Regions from separate parts of the Homo sapiens genome. Here regions 1, 3 and 4 are each linked to region 2. The links are contacts of gene promoters, found by promoter capture Hi-C in blood cells and fetal thymus (Javierre and others, 2016). All regions are on one chromosome and are shown on one strand. The core of a region is centred on a gene start or on the middle of the fragment in contact, and the rest is flanking DNA. Distances in the headings are between cores, read along the strand shown. Region 1 overlaps KDM5B (lysine demethylase 5B). Region 2 holds the start of LGR6 (leucine rich repeat containing G protein-coupled receptor 6). Region 3 holds the start of SYT2 (synaptotagmin 2). Region 4 overlaps KDM5B (lysine demethylase 5B).

Evidence for each region. The method cuts DNA at HindIII sites, captures the fragments that hold promoters and counts their contacts. A CHiCAGO score of 5 or more calls a contact.
Region 1: a fragment that was not itself captured here is called in contact with the fragment with the promoter of LGR6 in region 2 in 1 of 17 cell types (neutrophils); the score reaches 5.0 in neutrophils.
Region 3: a contact is called between a fragment that was not itself captured here and the fragment with the promoter of LGR6 in region 2, in 8 of 17 cell types (M1 macrophages, M0 macrophages, neutrophils and 5 more). The highest score is 14.5, in M1 macrophages.
Region 4: a contact is called between a fragment that was not itself captured here and the fragment with the promoter of LGR6 in region 2, in 1 of 17 cell types (monocytes). The highest score is 6.1, in monocytes.

What each region holds. Positions count from the first base shown.
Region 1 is chr1:202,766,477-202,770,563 of GRCh38, forward strand. KDM5B (lysine demethylase 5B) reads right to left here. Exons shown (of 27, transcript NM_006618.5): 5 at 450-584. It also overlaps the pseudogene COX7CP2. Among named protein-coding and RNA genes, the nearest start is that of KDM5B, 40 kb to the right of the region's middle. The HindIII fragment of the contact is 4,397 bases long and covers 1-3,890 here.
Region 2 is chr1:202,192,128-202,196,358 of GRCh38, forward strand. LGR6 (leucine rich repeat containing G protein-coupled receptor 6) reads left to right here and starts at 1,672. Exons shown (of 18, transcript NM_001017403.2): 1 at 1,672-2,074. The coding sequence starts at 1,863. RefSeq lists enhancers at 258-1,061, 756-805. The HindIII fragment of the contact is 23,199 bases long and covers 1-4,231 here.
Region 3 is chr1:202,706,992-202,711,513 of GRCh38, forward strand. It overlaps SYT2 (synaptotagmin 2), which reads right to left and starts at 3,463. Exons shown (of 9, transcript NM_177402.5): 1 at 3,267-3,463. The HindIII fragment of the contact is 1,708 bases long and covers 1,122-2,829 here.
Region 4 is chr1:202,744,157-202,748,694 of GRCh38, forward strand. It overlaps KDM5B (lysine demethylase 5B), which reads right to left. Exons shown (of 27, transcript NM_006618.5): 15 at 1,986-2,167; 16 at 1,702-1,826. Among named protein-coding and RNA genes, the nearest start is that of SYT2, 36 kb to the left of the region's middle. The HindIII fragment of the contact is 588 bases long and covers 1,142-1,729 here.

The DNA.
Region 1 (4,087 bases), core at 442-2,941, 570 kb after region 2:
GCCTGGGCAACACAGCGAGACTCTGTCTCTAAAAAAAAAAAAAGAAGTCTGAGAAAAGTGGCTTTAACTGTCTTCTAACCACTCTGTTTAAAAAAACTCCTAATCTTCATGTTTTCTAGCCTTAATCTCCATTAAACAACGCCAATTTTGTGAGGGTAATGGGCAATCCAAGTAGGAACACAGGAACACCAATTCTTCTAAGGCCTTGACTGGTAATAAGCGGCTGTCTGTCCAGGCAGCATAAATTTAGAAAGACTTATTCGATTCCTTACCCCTTTGATGGTACAATTCACCCAAGTGTAAAAGCTGGAATACAAACAGCATCCCTTTGTGAGATTAACAAGGTTCAAAACTACAAAGAGCACACACATGAGAGAAATCCAGTGCCAGACAGCCATTGGTATTAGGGCTTGAGAATTCCTTTTAAATTAACCTCATGAGGCTCTTACCTCTGCTCTCATGCGTTTTGCTCGTCGGGCTGGGGGGCACGTTTCCGAAGGCTGCACAGACTGCCTCTGGGGAATATCATGGGGTTTGTACTCCTTGTCCTTAGTGTCTGTGGTCAGGTTTGGCTTCTGCAAACACTAGAAATAACAACTGTACTGATAAATTCCCTCCTTTTTTTTTTCACATCATAAGTTTATTGACAAACATATCTAGCATGCCACATGAGTTCGAGTTTGATCTACTTCCAGAGGCTGCACCTCTTAAAATACTCTTCATATCTGTTAAATGGAGGAACTGAAACACCCTTATGTTTTAAGCAGTTGGTGTCTTACTACAAGGAAGGGTATAGCAAACGCAGATCCAAAGTACAAACACATCTTAGCTAGTAACGACCACTTGTTTTCCACTGAAAATGGCAAATTCTTCCCAGGGCCCTCCTCACAGTGGCTCCTACGGACCACAGAGGCTGTGAACCTCCGGATGCTCTAGCCCAACATAGCGCTGCTGGAAGCTCTGCGAAAGGTGCAGAGACCGAGGAAGGATGAAATGGCGGCACCTCACCAAGACCTTTTTTTCACGACCTTGTTCCCCGGTGTGCAAGGACTGAAAGGATTCCCTCCTTTTTTAATCTTAGAGAGTTTCACTGGATTTTTGTAAGGTACATTTTACAACTATTTATGTAGACAACAGGCCTACAATTTTTAAAAATCTAAATAAAAATAAAGACAAGTCTGCAGTTACCAACCACATACATACATCTATACAGGTTTAAAACATTAAAAAAAATTTTAACAGGTGGTGTTGCTTTGATTTTTCATTGCTGACATCATCAGGTTACAACAGGCCATAACAGTCTCAAGGCATTCCCAATGAACCACTTGGAGTTATTTGTGCTTGCGACTGTCAGTTAATGGAAGGTCCATATTGTTAGAAAGGCCCCTTATAAGCTCCCAAAACAATTTTCCATATTAAAAATCTCATTTTTAACAAGTGTTCGGAATAAAAAAAAATAAGGAATCCAATATGTTTTCTAGATTTTACAACTGTATAGTTTCAGATATAACTAGCAAAGTTATCATCCAAAGATATCACCTGAATTGAGAAAACAGGTCATTTGACTAAAGTAGTCTTCCTCACTAGGGTTTCCATTTACCACAGTATATCCCTACAAAGTCTAACTCGCAAGGCAAAGATCAACGGGTAGCCCACAGCAATAACTTTGGTTCTGATCAGAAATGCATCTCTTCTTTGGTTTTTCTTTTTAGTTTTATTCTAAGCTGGCTAAAGGAGGGTATTTAATGCCAATATAACATTAACACGACAAAATATTGCCACCGAAGCTAATATGAATTTCAGGTAAGCACTACTTTTTCATAACAGGACCCAGGAACATCACGAAAAACCTTTGTAAAAGTAAGTTCCAAAAGTAACCCTCTAGGGTGTGTTATAGCAGCTATATCTGGAATGAGATACGTGGAAATAACAACCTTCCTGAAGCACTAACACTATGAGCATAGTTACTACCATAGAATCTCACTAATGAGATTCGCCCCTTTCCCCCTCACATTTGCAGAAATACAGAGACTGGGCGAAGAACAAAATAAAGTACAAAGCAACACAATGATAAAATTTATTTCTAATAGTTAAGAAATATGATATACTATTAAAAACTGACTCATTACTTGTTAACAAGTAATAAATCTACCACTGGTAATAGCGCTCTATAAATATTAAACATTCTGCTCATTCTACTTAAACCTACATATTGATTTGATCCAGAAAAGTTAACTATTCTTTTTTTTTTTTTTTTTGAGATGGAGTTTCGCTCTTGTTGCCCAGGCTGGAGTGCAAAGGTGCAATCTCGGCTCACTGCAACCTCCACCTCCCAGGTTCAAGCAATTCTCCTGCCTCAGCCTCCCAAGTAGCTGGGATTACAGGCATGCACCACCACGCCCGGCTGATTTTGTATTTTTAGTAGAGACGGGGTTTCTCCATGTTGAGGCTGGTCTCAAACTCCTGACCTCAGGTGATCAGCCCGCCTCAGCCTCCCAAAGTGCTGGGATTACAGGTGTGAGCCACTGCACCCGGCCTACGGCCTATTATATTCTTTTTTTTTCTTTTTTTTTTTTTTGAGACAGAGTCTCGCTTTGTCGCCCAGGCTGCAGTGCAGTGGCGCCATCTTGGCTCACTGCAAGCTCCACCTCCTGGGTTCACGCCATTCTCCTACCTCAGCCTCCCAAGTAGCTGGGACTACAGGCACCTGCCACCACACCCAGCTATTTTTTTGTATTTTTAGTAGAGACAGGGTTTCACCGTGTTATCCAGGATGGTCTCAATCTCCTGACCTCGTGATCCACCTGCCTCAGCCTCCCAAAGTGCTGGGATTACAGGCGTGAGCCACTGCGCCCGGCCGCCTGGCCTATTATATTCTTAATAGTTAAGCACTTACATTCTGAAAAAAGTTGGTCAGGTGCAGTGGCTCAAGCCTGTAATCCCAGCACTTTGGGAGGCCAAGGCAGGTAGATCACTTGAGGTCAGGAGTTCGAAACCAGCTTGGCCAACATACTGAAACCCCGTCCTTACTAAAAGTACAAAAATTAGCCAATGTGGTGATGCATGCCTGTAATCCCACCTACTCGGGACACTGAGGCAGGAGAATCGCTTGAACCAGGGTGGCGGATGTTGCAATGAGCCGAGATCATGCCACTGCACTCCAGCCTGGGTGACACAGCAAGACTCTGTCTCAAAAAAAAAAAAAAAAAAAAAAAAAAAATTATGAGACAAATTAAACACCCAACAATTGAGAGAAAAAAATATTCTGTTTTTTGAAAAAATTTGTATAGAACATTGCCTTCTATTCTATAACAAGTCCTCAGTTGAGCATTTAGAGTATGTTTAATGAAAGCATGCAGAGGGGAATAAAACCTGTTCATCATCTAAATTAATCCCCTTTATGTATCCAATGTACTTTCTATTTGACACACAAAAGTATGAGTGATTAGGAAAATACTAATTGAGCTGAATGACATAAATTGTATTAAGTGGATGATCACAAATTCAGATGCTATATACGTGGTTCCTATCTCCTACTAGTTAGTCTCAATGGTTCCATCATCTATGGTCAGCTTGGTTCTGTAAGGACTTTGCAGATCTAAGAAAATCATGCCCTGTAGTTTTTTAGAATAAATATGAAGAGCTTTATTATTTTGTTCCAAACCACAATTAAAAATACACACGATATGGTTTTATATCTAATGTTATTAACATACAGACGCTAATTTTAACCTTTACTTGAGAAACCAGGACTTACAGGTGATTAATATCATCATCATGCCATAATCACATCATCCCAAAGACAGAGCAATCCCTTAAAACATTTAGAAAACATGATGATGCAAGATTGAGGCCTCTGTTCCACTGGAACAGTGCATCAACTTTTCTCAAGCTTCCTGAAATTTAACTTACACCCTACTTCACCCTTTTGCAATAATTCCTTTACTGTACACCTCTGTTTTTCTTAAGTATATGTTCTTCAATTCTTCTCTCCCTAATAACTATTTCAAAAATCAGAAATAGGTGTAAAAATTTACATACAAGGAATATTCATCATAGTATTATAATAAAAAACTAGAACTGACCT
Region 2 (4,231 bases), core at 422-2,921:
GGCAGGCTGCTGGGAGGTGGATGTTGTAGCGAGCCGAGATCACGCCACTGCACTCCAGCCTGGGCACCATTGAGCACTGAGTGAAGGAGACTCCGTCTGCAATCCCGGCACCTCGGGAGGCCGAGGCTGGCGGATCACTCGCAGTTAGGAGCTGGAGACCAGCCTGGCCAACACAGCGAAACCCCGTCTCCACCCAAAAAATACGAAAACCAGTCAGGCGTGGCGGCATGCGCCTGCAATTGCAGGCACTCGGCAGGCTGAGGCAGGAGAATCAGGCAGGGAGGTTGCAGTGAGCCGAGATGGCAGCAGTACAGTCCAGCTTCGGCTCGGCATCAGAGGGAGACCGTGGAAAGAGGGGAGAGGGAGAGGGAGAGCGAGAGCGGAGGCTCGTCTTCTACTTTCAGCGCCATGGCACCAACTGGAGGCCTAGGGTCAAGGTCTGCTCATTTCTTGGTCCAGCTATGCAGCCCCTCTAGCCCTGGGAGGTTATTGGGAGAGTGGAGAGGTGTTGATGAGAGGATCCTGGCATGTGGAAAGACAGGGTGGAAGAAATCCTGGATGCCTCTGAGGTCCCAGGTTTCTAGTATACCCTCTGGCTGGACCATGGGGAGATAGGGCAAAAAAAGGAAGGAGGGGGGCCCACAGCCTGCTCTAGCTCTGCGCGGGGGCTTGGCTCAGCATGGGAGAGACCAGAGAGAGCAAGAGGCTGCATGAAGGAAGCACAGCCAGCTCACTATGGTCTAAGGAGAGAACAGGGATTGACCTCAGTTTTAACCACCATGCCCTTTGCTCTCCAGGGCTCTGGGGCCGGCCCAGGTCAGCCACTTGGTGGGATTCCAGCCTCAGGGTGGCTGAGCTGCAGGTGCAGCACCCGGCCTCCAGGTGGCACCAATCCGCTTACTTTGAGGTGGGCTCTGACAACCAGCTGAGCTGCCCACAGTCCCTCAGACTCCCGAGGTCCTGGGAGCAGGGATCAAGGTGGTCCCCAGGCCGTAAACCTGACAGAGGCTGCAGGAGTGCATTTCCACCCAGGGTGCACTCAGCGGGTGTAACTCCACACCCGTTTCTTTGGAGTCAAGGCCCGGCCTCTCAGTGAGGAGACTGCTCCTGGTTGCCCACCGTCGGGTCATCCCAGCCTGCAGTGGAACCCTCCGCAGCCTGGCCTCTTCCAGGGTAGCCCCTCACTCCCCTCTCTCCTGTCCTAGCAGACAGGCCAGGGAGGGTGGACGAGTTCCAGCTCTGGGGATGTCCCATCAGCTGTGTCACCTTGAACAAATCATTTTGCCTCTTGGGTCTCAGTTTCCTGCAGTGTGAAACGTGGTGGAGGCATGAGGGGCAATGGGAGCCCCAAGGCCTCTTTCAGAGACCTCCTCTGGGTCCCATGTGACCTCGTGGCTGTCCCCAAAGGCAAGAGGGTCCCCAGCCCTGCGGCCAAGGCCCTGGGACACCCTATCCAAACAAATGCAGGTCTCTGACGGGCTGAGCTTTGCTCGCTTGGGTTTCTTTGCTTTCTTCCTTTTTTTTTTTTCTTTCCTGGATGAAATTCCTGCCAGCTCCGAAGGAAGGAGGGAAGAGGAGCGAGCCGCAGTGTAGAAAGTTTCCTTGACTCCTCCTCCGGCTGGGTCTCCCTCCCTTGCCAAGCCCAGCCTGTGAAACTGAATAACGAAGATCACTCAACAATGCCTGCCCCTCTCTGACTGCACCGTCCCGGCGCTCCCACCGCCGCCGCCGCCGCCCAATAGAGCCCCTGGGGCGGTCCCCACCGACGGTGCAGCCCGCCGGGACCGGGAGGAAGCAGCTGCGGCCATCGCGCCGTGCGTCCGCGCCCGGCCGCCAGGTGCCCCAGTAGCCCGACCGCCGAGATGCCCAGCCCGCCGGGGCTCCGGGCGCTATGGCTTTGCGCCGCGCTGTGCGCTTCCCGGAGGGCCGGCGGCGCCCCCCAGCCCGGCCCGGGGCCCACCGCCTGCCCGGCCCCCTGCCACTGCCAGGAGGACGGCATCATGCTGTCTGCCGACTGCTCTGAGCTCGGGCTGTCCGCCGTTCCGGGGGACCTGGACCCCCTGACGGCTTACCTGTGAGTACTGCCCGCCTGTCCCCGCCTGGTCCTGCGGGCTGCTGGCTAGCGCCCAGTCCCGGCCTCAGCAGGGCACCTGCTTGCTTGGTGCCCTGGGGCATGGGCATCCCGGAGAGGGTTTGCCCCCTTCCAAGTTGACCGTTGCGGGACTGGGGAGGGGAGAAGAGTCTGAGACTAAATACCAGGCGAGCAGGGAGACCGGGCTTCCCTGACTTGGCTTCCCCATTGGCCTCCGTGCTTGTGGGCTGACTATGGGAGCCCAGGCTTGGCGAGGTGGGTTCTGGACCCTGAGCGGGAGGGCGCGGGGCTGGCTGCTCCATCTCCTGTTGCTGCATTCTCTTCTAGCAGAGCAGTGCCCGGGATGGTGGCTGAGGGTAAAGCTGACAGAACTGGAGGTGGAGGTGAGGGGAGCGTGCCCCAGTAGGGTGGAAATAATGTCTGTTCTTCTGCCATGGTGAGGACAACAGGGCTGTCACACTGAGGCTGGGTGGCCTTCGTGGGGGCGGGGGGGGCGGGTTTCCTAGAAGCTGGGAGGGGGGCCTTATCCACTCTTGTCTCCTCAGAAAGGGACTCTGCCAGCACCATCTCCCTTCACTGGGGCCTCCTGGCTCCCCCAGGGGCCTCCCTAAAGTCATGTCCCAAGAGGCTGTGTTGGAGACACTAATTTGTGGGCAGGCGCCGAGGCTGAAAACCAGAGAACCATTTTTAGCGTCTGAGTTGGGGTGAGATGGCGCGTGAAGGGGACCCTACTGGGGGCAGCTGTCCTGTCTGTCTGGCTCATGGGAGCTTCCCCTCAGAGCTGGAGGGCTGGGGGCTCTGGCTGCTCACCACCTGGGCAGGAGGAGGGTGAGAGAGCACATTCCAGGCCACCCACCTGCACCCCCAGCCCCGCTCTGGGGCAAGGAAACCTCCTCCAGCCCAGCTCTGCAGGCTCTATCAACTTCCTCAGAGGAGCTGGGAGCAGGTGGGAAAGCCTGGTGGGGCCTTCTGCTGAGGGCTAGGATCCCAGAGTTCCTTCTGGCCTGAGAGAGGCTCCTTATGGCTTTGGGGTTCCAGCACATGGGAGCTTAGAGGAAGAGGAGGCTGGGTGAATCTTTATAGGGGCCTAGCAAGAATTTGTGGAACTAAAGATGCTCAGTGTTGGGAGTGTCCTGGTGGGAGGTAGAGGGTCCCAGAGGGCAACTCTTCATGGGGCTCCTCTCCAAATGTCCCTGTCCCCAGGTTGGGATGTCCCCCTCCACTCCAAAAGGCACAGGCTGTGGGCCAGGTAAGGGAGTGGGAAGAGAAAAATAATGTCCATCTAGAAGGACAAATGGAATCCTTCACAGTGCAGTAGGTGACGGCAGAGGCAATCATGGGAATAAAGGTACCAACTGCACAGAGCCTGGGCGCTCAGCATCTGGCAAAGCAGGGCAGGCTCCGGCCCCACCCTACACACAGGCCAGCCCCTCTTTCAGCAGTTTTCTATCCTGGGAGTATGTGACATTGGTTCATTTGAAGACAGGGTCCTGTGGCTAAAGAGTTTAGATGTGACTTCTGTGGAGCCTTTCTCTGGGTGAGCTGAAGGAAGGTCCCTTGCCTGGGTTGAAGGGGCAGGGGAGATAAGGCCTTCCAGAGCTTCCTTTCCCAGCATTAAGTCTTCCTAGACTGGTTAATGACCCTTTTTCTAGAAGGACTTGGGGAAGGAGGTACACTGTCACCTTTGGAATTCAAGCATCCTACCATCCATGCTGGCAGAAGTTTTTCCCACTAGCTTGCCACAATTCCCTCGGAGCTGTGAAGTCTGCATTTGGGTTCAGTGGAGGTGGGGTTTTCTGAGCTGGTCTGTGTCTTCCTGGGGATTGAGAAAGCCCCTCTCTCTCAAGACTCAGGGGATGCTTCTGAGAGTTGTGGAGAGAAGAGAGGGAGTGGGAGCTATAAAGAGTATGATGGGTCCTGAGGCAATATGGGGAATTTAGCAGTGGGGTCTGGAATATTGGAAGGAGGTGGCAGAGGACCGTGTCCCCTGCCCTGGGCTGGGGAGGGGTCCCATCTGGATGGTGCATGAAGGATTCCTACAGTTGTCCTGAGGGTGTCTCAGAGGAGGAATTTTCTTTCTTTGCCCTCTCTGGAGAACAGCTCTACCAGAAAGGCACCTGAAGGTGGGGTTGAGAGCTG
Region 3 (4,522 bases), core at 726-3,225, 520 kb after region 2:
ATAACTCTTGGCACAGTCATGATGAATTCTTTATGTAATTATCTAATTGTGTGGTATTCACTAGATTGTAAATGCCACGAGGGCAGGAAACAGGTCTGTTTTGTTCCCACCTGAATCTCCATTGCCTAGCACAGATTCTCAAAATGCAATAGTGGAACGAATGCAGAAGGGATGCTGAGTGGCTCAGTAACATGTGTAGGGCCTGCGGCTGTGCTCACCTCCCCACCCAGAGAGACTACAATAGTGGCACATGGTAGGTACTCACTAATAAAATACTTGTTGCAAATGTCAGACTTTGTACTTAGCAGCCCTGGGATTTGAACCCAGGCCTGTCTATCTCCTAGCCTCCATTCTTTGGTGCTTCATATTTAACCACTGCACTGAGTGACCCTGCCCCCCCATTACTCCCTCTGACTTGCTGTTCCAGTTCTTAAAGAGTATCCCCACCACCCTGGACCTTCAGTGGTGGGGATACTCTGGCTTCAGCTAGGACCTGCCTAGACTGGGGAAGTCCACAGAGCAAATCCCAAAGCCAAGTGAAGTAGTGTTTCTACTCATCTGCAGCCTTAAGTCCTCCACGAGGATGCTTCTGTCCAGGGAAGGGAATGATGGTCATTCTTCCAGGCAAATGAAGCCCAACCTCCTCCCACTCTGTCCTCACTGCCTTCTGTCCCCCTGCTTCCAGTGCACTCACTGCCCCTCTATCTACTCTCCCCTGAGAGGGCGGCACAGGCCTGGCGGGGAAGAAAAAGGAGACCCCATTGAGATATGATAATGTTCAGATGGAGGCAGAAAGAATGACTAGAGGTCAGGCTTGCCTAGGGGCTGGGGAACACTGGGGTAGCCTGGTCCCCAGGGCTTGAGAAGGGCAAGGAAGAGGCTTCTCCAGCCACCTCCAAAGCCCACCCCCAGGTCTCTGCAGTATCATAGACAGCCCTGTCACACCTGCCTGGAAGCTGCCTAAGGGTAGAAGGAATAAAACGAGCTCCAGCTGCAATGTGAGGGCAGGTGAGCCCAGACCCAGCTCCAGAAAGGGTCTCCTCGGCCCTGCGAGGTCTTCAGCAAGGTACATGCTTTGCCCAGGTGAAACCAGCTTCAGTCCTAAATTGAAGCCAGTTGCAAGCTTCTCTAGGTGAAAAGTCAATGTTTACGAACACCAACACTTTTTGCTTCCCCTGGTCCTGTTCTGCGGATGTCAGACCCCAAAGCTGAAAAAGAAATGTTCCTGCATAATCACCCCCTTCCCCCAAAAGAAAACCCAAGTTCCCTGGACCAAGCTCCTGGACTGCAGAACAAAGCAGACTCCCAGCAGAGTGGTCTGGTCTCTCTTCCTCCAGGGAATGGTGGGCCAGGTCTATGTGAGGCTATAACCTAGAAACTTTCCTCTGCCTCCCTCTCCTCCTCCTTTGGCAAGACAAGGAGGGGAGAAGGTAAGGATTAAGCCCAAAAGATCTCCAGAAAAAGCCAAGCCTCTGGGGGGAGTCCTAGAGGGTGAAGCCAGGGATCTGCCTGGCAGCCAAGCAGAGCAGAGGCAGCCACCCTGAGGGAAAGGTGGTTCAGTCGGGGTTCAGTGGGCACTGGCCATTTTCCAGGGGCATGGGAGGAGATGGGTTGGAGTTGGACTCCCTAGGCTGCAGTGTGCCTGGCGTGGACCCCTGACGCTGACTCACCCCCAGGGCCCTGACACACGCTGCAGCTTGCAGTGCCTGCCAGACCACCACTCTCATTCCACAGGACCAGGATGCCAGGCACGTCCCACTGCATCAGAGCCACCCTGCCCCCTTCCACCTGCCACTCGGGCCCGCCTTTGGGGCACTGGGCATGGCTTTTTTCAGCACCTCTGCTGGTCACAGAGATGTTTCTAGCAGCCCCAAAGCTGGACTTAGTCTTAAGTAGGGAGAGATGGTTGAAAGGATTAAGGGCTTCCCTGCTTCTGTCACCCCCTCTAATGAAGTGCCAGGTTATGGGGATCCAGACAGATTGGATGGAGGACAATCTATTCCACCTGGGAGAGGCCCCGCAGGGCGGCAGCAGTAGGGGAGGGAGAAGGGCACCCTTTTGCTTTCCAGGTCAGACCCCAGTTCACCTTTCTGGCTTCCTGGGCGCCCCCAGATCCTAAGGACTTCCTCCTCCTTATAAGCTAACTCAACCTGTACTACCTGCCCACGGGGCCTCTGCCCTTCCCTCCCCACTGCAGTGGCCCCTCCTGGGCCAGCACCTCTTCTGTCCTTGCACTCCCTTCTCCTGCTGCGGGGAGAGCACCTACTCTGCCACCTCAGCCAGGGGTAAGGGAGGACACTGCCCTGCCAGGAGACACCCCACGAGCCATGGGCTGGGGGTGTCCTGGAGGCACCTGTGGAATGTGGGGATGAAAAGGGAGGAGACAGGATGAGGGGGCCTGGCTTAGTGGGATGTGAAACGATAAAGCTCCACTTTTTAGTTGAAAAATAAAAGCCCTGTGCCCCAGAGGTGGGGGAAGGAGCATAGGCAGGGGAAGGGGGCACCCCAAATGGGAAAGGTACATGGAAGAGTCCAGAAAAGGGAGTCGGGCTGTCAGCACCCGCCAGGCTGCGAGCCTAGCCCTTGGGGACAGAGCTGAAGCAGGGACGGGGCGTCCTAGGTCGTGCTGAGTCATGAGATTTGGAGAGAGGGGAGGGGCGCCTCCAGCCCCTTCTTGGGCCCCTGCCCCAGCTCCTCGTGCCCGTTGCTTCCAGATGGCCCCTGCAGTCTGTCTCCCCAACCTCTCCCTGACCCAGGGTCTCCGGCTCCCAGCGCCCAGACCCCACCCCCCGCCCCACTTCCCACGACGGCGGTGCCAGGGGTCCCCGAAGCTTGAGACTGGGGCAAAAGAACCTTCCTTGGAGACCGCTAGGGCTGGCGGGGGCTGGGCTAGACGCGAGTGGGTTCGTCCCAGGGAAAGGAGAGAGGGACGGGGGCGCAGAGCCGGCCGGTGCAGGGGACGCGTGGCCCGCCCCTCTCTGCAGCAACCCGCGGGAGGAAATCTGCCCCCAGCCCAGCCCCAGTCCCTCAGAGGAGCCGGCTCCTCGCCCCTCGGGTCCGACTCCCCGAGACGAACCTTCCATCCGGACGCTTCCAAACTCCCCCAAAGGACGGGGCAGACTCCCGGCCCCCTTGGCCTCAAACTTCCCCAACCCTACTCACCTCTCGGGACCCAGACCACCCCGTGGCCCCTCGACTCAGTAGCAGGAAAGGAGAAACTTTGGAGAGGGAGGTCCGTGCCCCCACCGGCGGGGGTATGGACTTACCGGAGAGCGACCCGAAGGAGGCGGGAGAGATCCGGGGTCTCCAATGTGAGGGGGCGTCGGACGGCAAGGACGCGTGGCTGGCGACGGTTTCGCAGGGGCGCCCGTTCCCCTGGGGGCGCGAAGTCCCCGCTCCACCGCTGCCCCAACTCGGCTCCGAAGTGCCTTTGCCGCAAGACTTGCTGAGCTTAGCAGTCTGCGCCGAGGCGGCAGAGGGAGGGGGCCTGATCGATGGGCGCGCGCGGCGAGCGCTGCAGTGAGGGGAGGAGACCAAGCGGCGTGGGAGGGCGGGGACCGAGGCGGAGGAGGCCCGGAGGAGGCGGAGGGCGGGCCTGCCCCCCGGGACGGGTTCTTTCTGCGCAGCCCCCCAGGCGCTCGGCGCCCCCGCCTCCTGCTCAAGGTCAAGGAGGCTGCTTCCCCAGCAGGAAGGCGGACTGGAAAGGAGCTCTATACTCCCCACCCCAGAAGGCTGGTCTCCTTTCTAGCCAGCTCCTTCTCTCCAACTTCCCGAACCCACTGCAGCTCAAGGCTAAATTATTGGGCTCAGGAGCCCCCATCCCCATGGCCATTTTGGGATCCCTGAGCCCCTAGCCTCCCCTCCTCCCCTCTCCGCTTAGGTCACCGCTACCTATATTGGCCACCTGGATGGTGGGGGCTTCTGAGCCTAAAGGTTGGGTGAGAGAGAGGAGGATGCTTGAGAGAAGACAGCGGTGCCTGAGGCCTATGGAAATAGAACAGCGGAGGGGAGAGTAAGAACTGCAGGGTGACAAGGAGAGAGGAGCTGGAAGACGGTAGAAAGAAAAGGAGGACGCTACTGGTTATTAAAGACAGGGTGTTCACACATGTTAGTTTGCTTAATACGTAAGACATCCCTTTAAGGTGGGCATTTTGCGTGGGCAGTTTGCAGGTGGGGAAACAGTCCCTGAATGGTGCGTTGGACCAAGGAGCTGCAGACAGTTAAGTGGTGGCATTTCGGAAGAGCCTGGGAGAAAGAGAAGGGTGGCAAGGGCAAAACAGAGCCCTTCCTAACCTACCCAGGAGCTGCCAGGGCAGCACCAGAACTTCCTTACAGCACAATTTGAATATCCGCTTTAACTCTTTTGGAGTTAACTTTTTTTTTTCTTTTTTTTTTAGACAAGTCTCACTCTGTTACCCAACCTGCAGTGCAGTGTGCAGTGGCGCGATCTTGGCTCACTGCCACCTCTGCCTCCTGGGTTGAAGGGATTCTCCCGCCTCAGCCTCCCGAGCAGCTGGGATTA
Region 4 (4,538 bases), core at 186-2,685, 550 kb after region 2:
GTAGGCAAAGGATATGAAAAGATACTTTTCAAAAGAAGACATACGTATGGCCAACAATCATATGAAAAAAAGCTCAACATCACTGATCATTAGAGAAATGCAAATCAAAACTACAATGAAAGGCCGGGCGCAGTGGCTCACGCCTGTAATCCCAGTACTTTGGGAGGCCGAGGCAGGCAGATCACAAGGTCAGGAGTTCAAGGCCAGCCTGACTAACATGGTGAAATCCTGTCTCTACTAAAAATACAAAAATTAGCTGGGCATGTTGGCACGTGCCTGTAGTCCCAGCTACACAGGAGGCTGAGGCAGGAGAATTGCTTGAACCCAGGAGGTGGAGGTTGCAGTGAGCCGAGATCGCACCACTGCACTCCAGTCTGGGTGACAGAGCAAGACTCCGTCTCAAAACAAAAACAAAAACAAACAAAAAAAACACCACAATGAGATATCACCTCATACCAGTCAGAATGGCTATTATTAAAAAGTCAAAAAGTAACATGCTGGCAAGGTTGTGGAGAAAAGGGAACGCATATACACTGTTGGTAGAAGTGTAAATTAGTTCAACGATTGTGGAAGACAGTGTGGTGATTCTTCAAAGATCTAAAGACTGAAATACCATTTGACCGAGCAATGCCATTACTGGGTATATACCCAAAGGAATATACATCATTCCATTTATAAAGACACATGCATGTGTATGTTCACTGCAACACTATTCACAATAGCAAAGACATAGAATCAACCTAAATACCCATCAATGATAGACTGGATAAAGAAAAATGTGGTACATATACACCATGGAATACTATGCAGCCATAAAAAAGAATGAGCTCGTGTCCTTTGCAGGAACATGGATGGAACTGGAGGCAATTAGTTAGCAAACTAACACTAGGAACAGGAAAGCAAATACTGCATATTCTCACTTATTAAGTGGGAGCTAAATGATGAAAACACATGGATGCATACAGGGGAGTAACACGTGAACACATACAGGGGAACAACACACAATGGAGCCTATTGGAGGGTGGAGGGCAGGAGGAGGGAGAGGCTCCAGAAAAATAACTAATGGGTACTAAGCTTAATACCTGGATGATGAAATAATCTGTACAACAAACGCCCATGACACAAGTTTATCTATGTAACAAGCTTGCACATATACCCCTGAGGTGAAAAGTAAAAAGCAAAAAACAAACTATATTTTCATAAGAAAAAAGAGAGAGAGAGATATAAAGGGTAGCAGTGACTTTCAAAGGTAATGACAAGTGCCAGGGACCTTAACTTTAATTAGAACTAAGAAGTGATAAACTACCATTTCAGAGACTCCTGATTTAGTGTCATGCTGCCTTTGTCACAAGATGCTTTGTTTTTGTTTTTGTTTTTTTAAAGATTTCAACATCTTTGTAAGAAATGTGAAATTTTTATTTCTGAGACAAAAATAAAGGTTTCCTAACAATATCGTTTTTGTTAAGTAAGTGATGTTGCACAACTCATATAACAAAATTTCACTGGGATGTAAGGGCAACTGCCTTATCCACTCTTGGTTTTAAAACCTTCTCTGCCGGTGCTCTGTAAACCGGGCTATGTAGAGGGGCTAACCAAGGATGAGGTCAGGCTGTTTCAAGAAATGTTTTGTTGACTTTAATTTGGCTACATCACAATAAGCCCCAATTTGCCAATCACCAAGTCACTTTCTGTATCACATACTTTTCTTCTTGTTGATCTTTGCCTCCAAAGCTTCATTCACATTCAAGGCCCATTCGTTGTAAGATTCTGCTCGAAGCTTCAATGCATTCATCATAGGGTAGAGATCATCCAGCGTGTACCTATACCTGGAAATAATACCACCACACTTAGCTTTGAGACGTGTAGCTTTGGAGAAAACTAGATGTTTTATACTTAACATTTCAGCCCTAGAACTGCGGTATCATTGAGCTTTTAGTAAGGATCAACTGTTTTCCATAGGAAAAAAAATCGTTCTTCCTACTTACCGCAATTTATATTTGTAAGGAGGACAGGAACACAATTCTTTTACATGATGCAGGCAAACAAGAAGGCCAGGTTTACAAGAACAGGAGATGGCAGACATGAAGCATGTAGTTTTGCATTTTACACACTGACGTTCATCATCTGGCAACAGCTCAAAATCCATTCTTTCCGAATCAATCACTCCCTAGAATAAAGTATACTTTAGAGAGACCTCCAAAGGATAATATAATCCACCAGCCCAAGACAAACATGCAGTAGTACTTGAGTCTGAAAAAAAAAAAAAAGCTTTACCAAAATAGGGATGCATGATTAAAAATGTGTGGCATACAAAGAAACAAATGACCTAGCAAATACAGGCAAGTTCATTTGTCTAGGGAGATCTCCTTTTTCAGACAAGGCAGGTCCTTATGTTTGGTCATTTTGATCTGAGTATGAACACCATAGGACTGTAAAACTACTGAGATTAGTTATCTGTTCTACTACAAATTAGCCTTGTCCACATTTTGGGTATAGATAAGAGGTATAGATAAGATTAAAAGAAAGGAATATGTTTCCTACTTCTGAGGAAATATGGAGAATCTATTAAAAGGACAAAAATAAAAGGAAAGAAGATGGGACGAGTGGAAAAGACTATCGTGCAGAAATTGAGTTTGGGAAGATGCTGAGTGGTCTCTCAGCCTTTTACAGGAAGTTATATGAAAGGATATCATTAACTGAATAGTTAGAAAATTTGTGCAATAGCAAAGACTAAAGTCATAATTAAACATTTCCTCCTAAAAGACTGTCAGGAAAAATAAGGTCTTGAACCAGTAAATTTCAACATAATCTGTACCACCTAACATCTAGAGAACCCTTCTTGGATACACCTTTTGTCATTTAAAGACCAAACTTCTATCACCTTTTCTCCCTATCTAAAACTGGATCCTAATCCAGCCTTGAGAATGCCAGTCGTTTATGAACTACTGGGCTTCTTTCTTTTATTCTGTTATCCTGTATTTTAACCTTTTAACTATTTCATATCTGCCAATTATATGGGCCAACAAAGATGAGGAAGGTAAGGAAAATGCTAATTAGATTTTGGTTTTATTCTTGAATTGGTCATTAAAAAGGACTTCATGGGATGGAGAAAGTTAACATTTTTGTTTAAAATAAGATTAAGGACCAACTCCATGGATTTTAATTGAGAATCAATCATGTAGTTCATACCTAATTTTAATTTGTAAATTCCATATATGGAAAAAGTCTCAGAGTTCTAAAAATGAGCTACCATTTTTGATGTAAGACTTTGGTAAGTTACTTAAACCCTCTGGGCACTATTTTCCCCCAACTGTAAAATATAAGAGGGTAAGGTAGGTAACCTGCTGTTAAAATGTAAATGGGCTGCAGAGAGCCAATATTCCAGGATTCTACCCAAAAAGGCACATATTTTTAAAAAAAAAAAAAAAAACAGTATTACTATTTGCAGATATTATTATTCTAAAAGAATCCATGAAAAAGCTACTGGGAATTAAGTGACTTTAGCAAGGTCTCAGGAGACAAGGTCAATATACAAGTCAATTGTCTCTCTAAATACTAGCAATAAACAATTAGAAATTCAGTTTTTAAAAGTACAATTTATAATAGTGCCAAAAAACATGCAATATAAAATTATACTATGTTCATGAATTGGAAGACTCAATATTATTAAGATATCAATTCTCCCCCAAACTATCCATAGTTTCATGCAGTCTCAATCAAAATTCCAACAGGAATTGATTTGGTAGAAATCAATAAGCTGATTCTAAAATGTACATTAAAAAAAGTAAAAGAGATAAAACAATTTTTTAAAAAAAACAAAGTTAGAAGACTCATACTACCTGATTTCAAGACTTCTTAGAAAGCTACAATAATCAAGACCATTTAGTATTAGCAATAGAATAGATGCATAGATCACCAGAACACAAGAGTCCAGAAATAGACCCATACTTATGTGGTGAATTGATTTTCAACAAAGGTGCCAAAGCAATTTAATGAAGAAAAGATAGTCTTTTCAAGAAATGCTGCTGGAAGAACTAGATATCCACATGCAAAAAAATGAACCTTGACTCATATTTTTGAAAAACAAAAATTACTTGAAATAGATGAAAGACCTAAATGTAAAACTTCAAACTATGAAATTCTAGATGACTTTGTAGGAGAAAATCTTTGTAACTTTGGATTAGGCAAGATTTATTAAATAGGAAACCAAAAAAACATGATTCACACAAGAAAATAATTAACAAACTGGACTTCATCAAAATGAAAAACTCCTGCTTGCTGAAAGACACTGGTAGGAAAATCAAAGACAAGCCACAGACTGGGAGAAAACATTAGCAAAACACCTATCTGATTTAAAAAAAAAAAAACTGGTATGCAGAATACATAAAGAATTATTACAAAAACCAAATGTTTTAAAAAAATAAAGGGCAAGCCGGGTGTGGTGGCTCACGCCTGTAATCCCAGCACATTGGGAGGTTGAGTTGGGTGGATAGCTTGAACCCAGGAGTTTGAGACCAGCCTGGGCAACATAGTGAGAC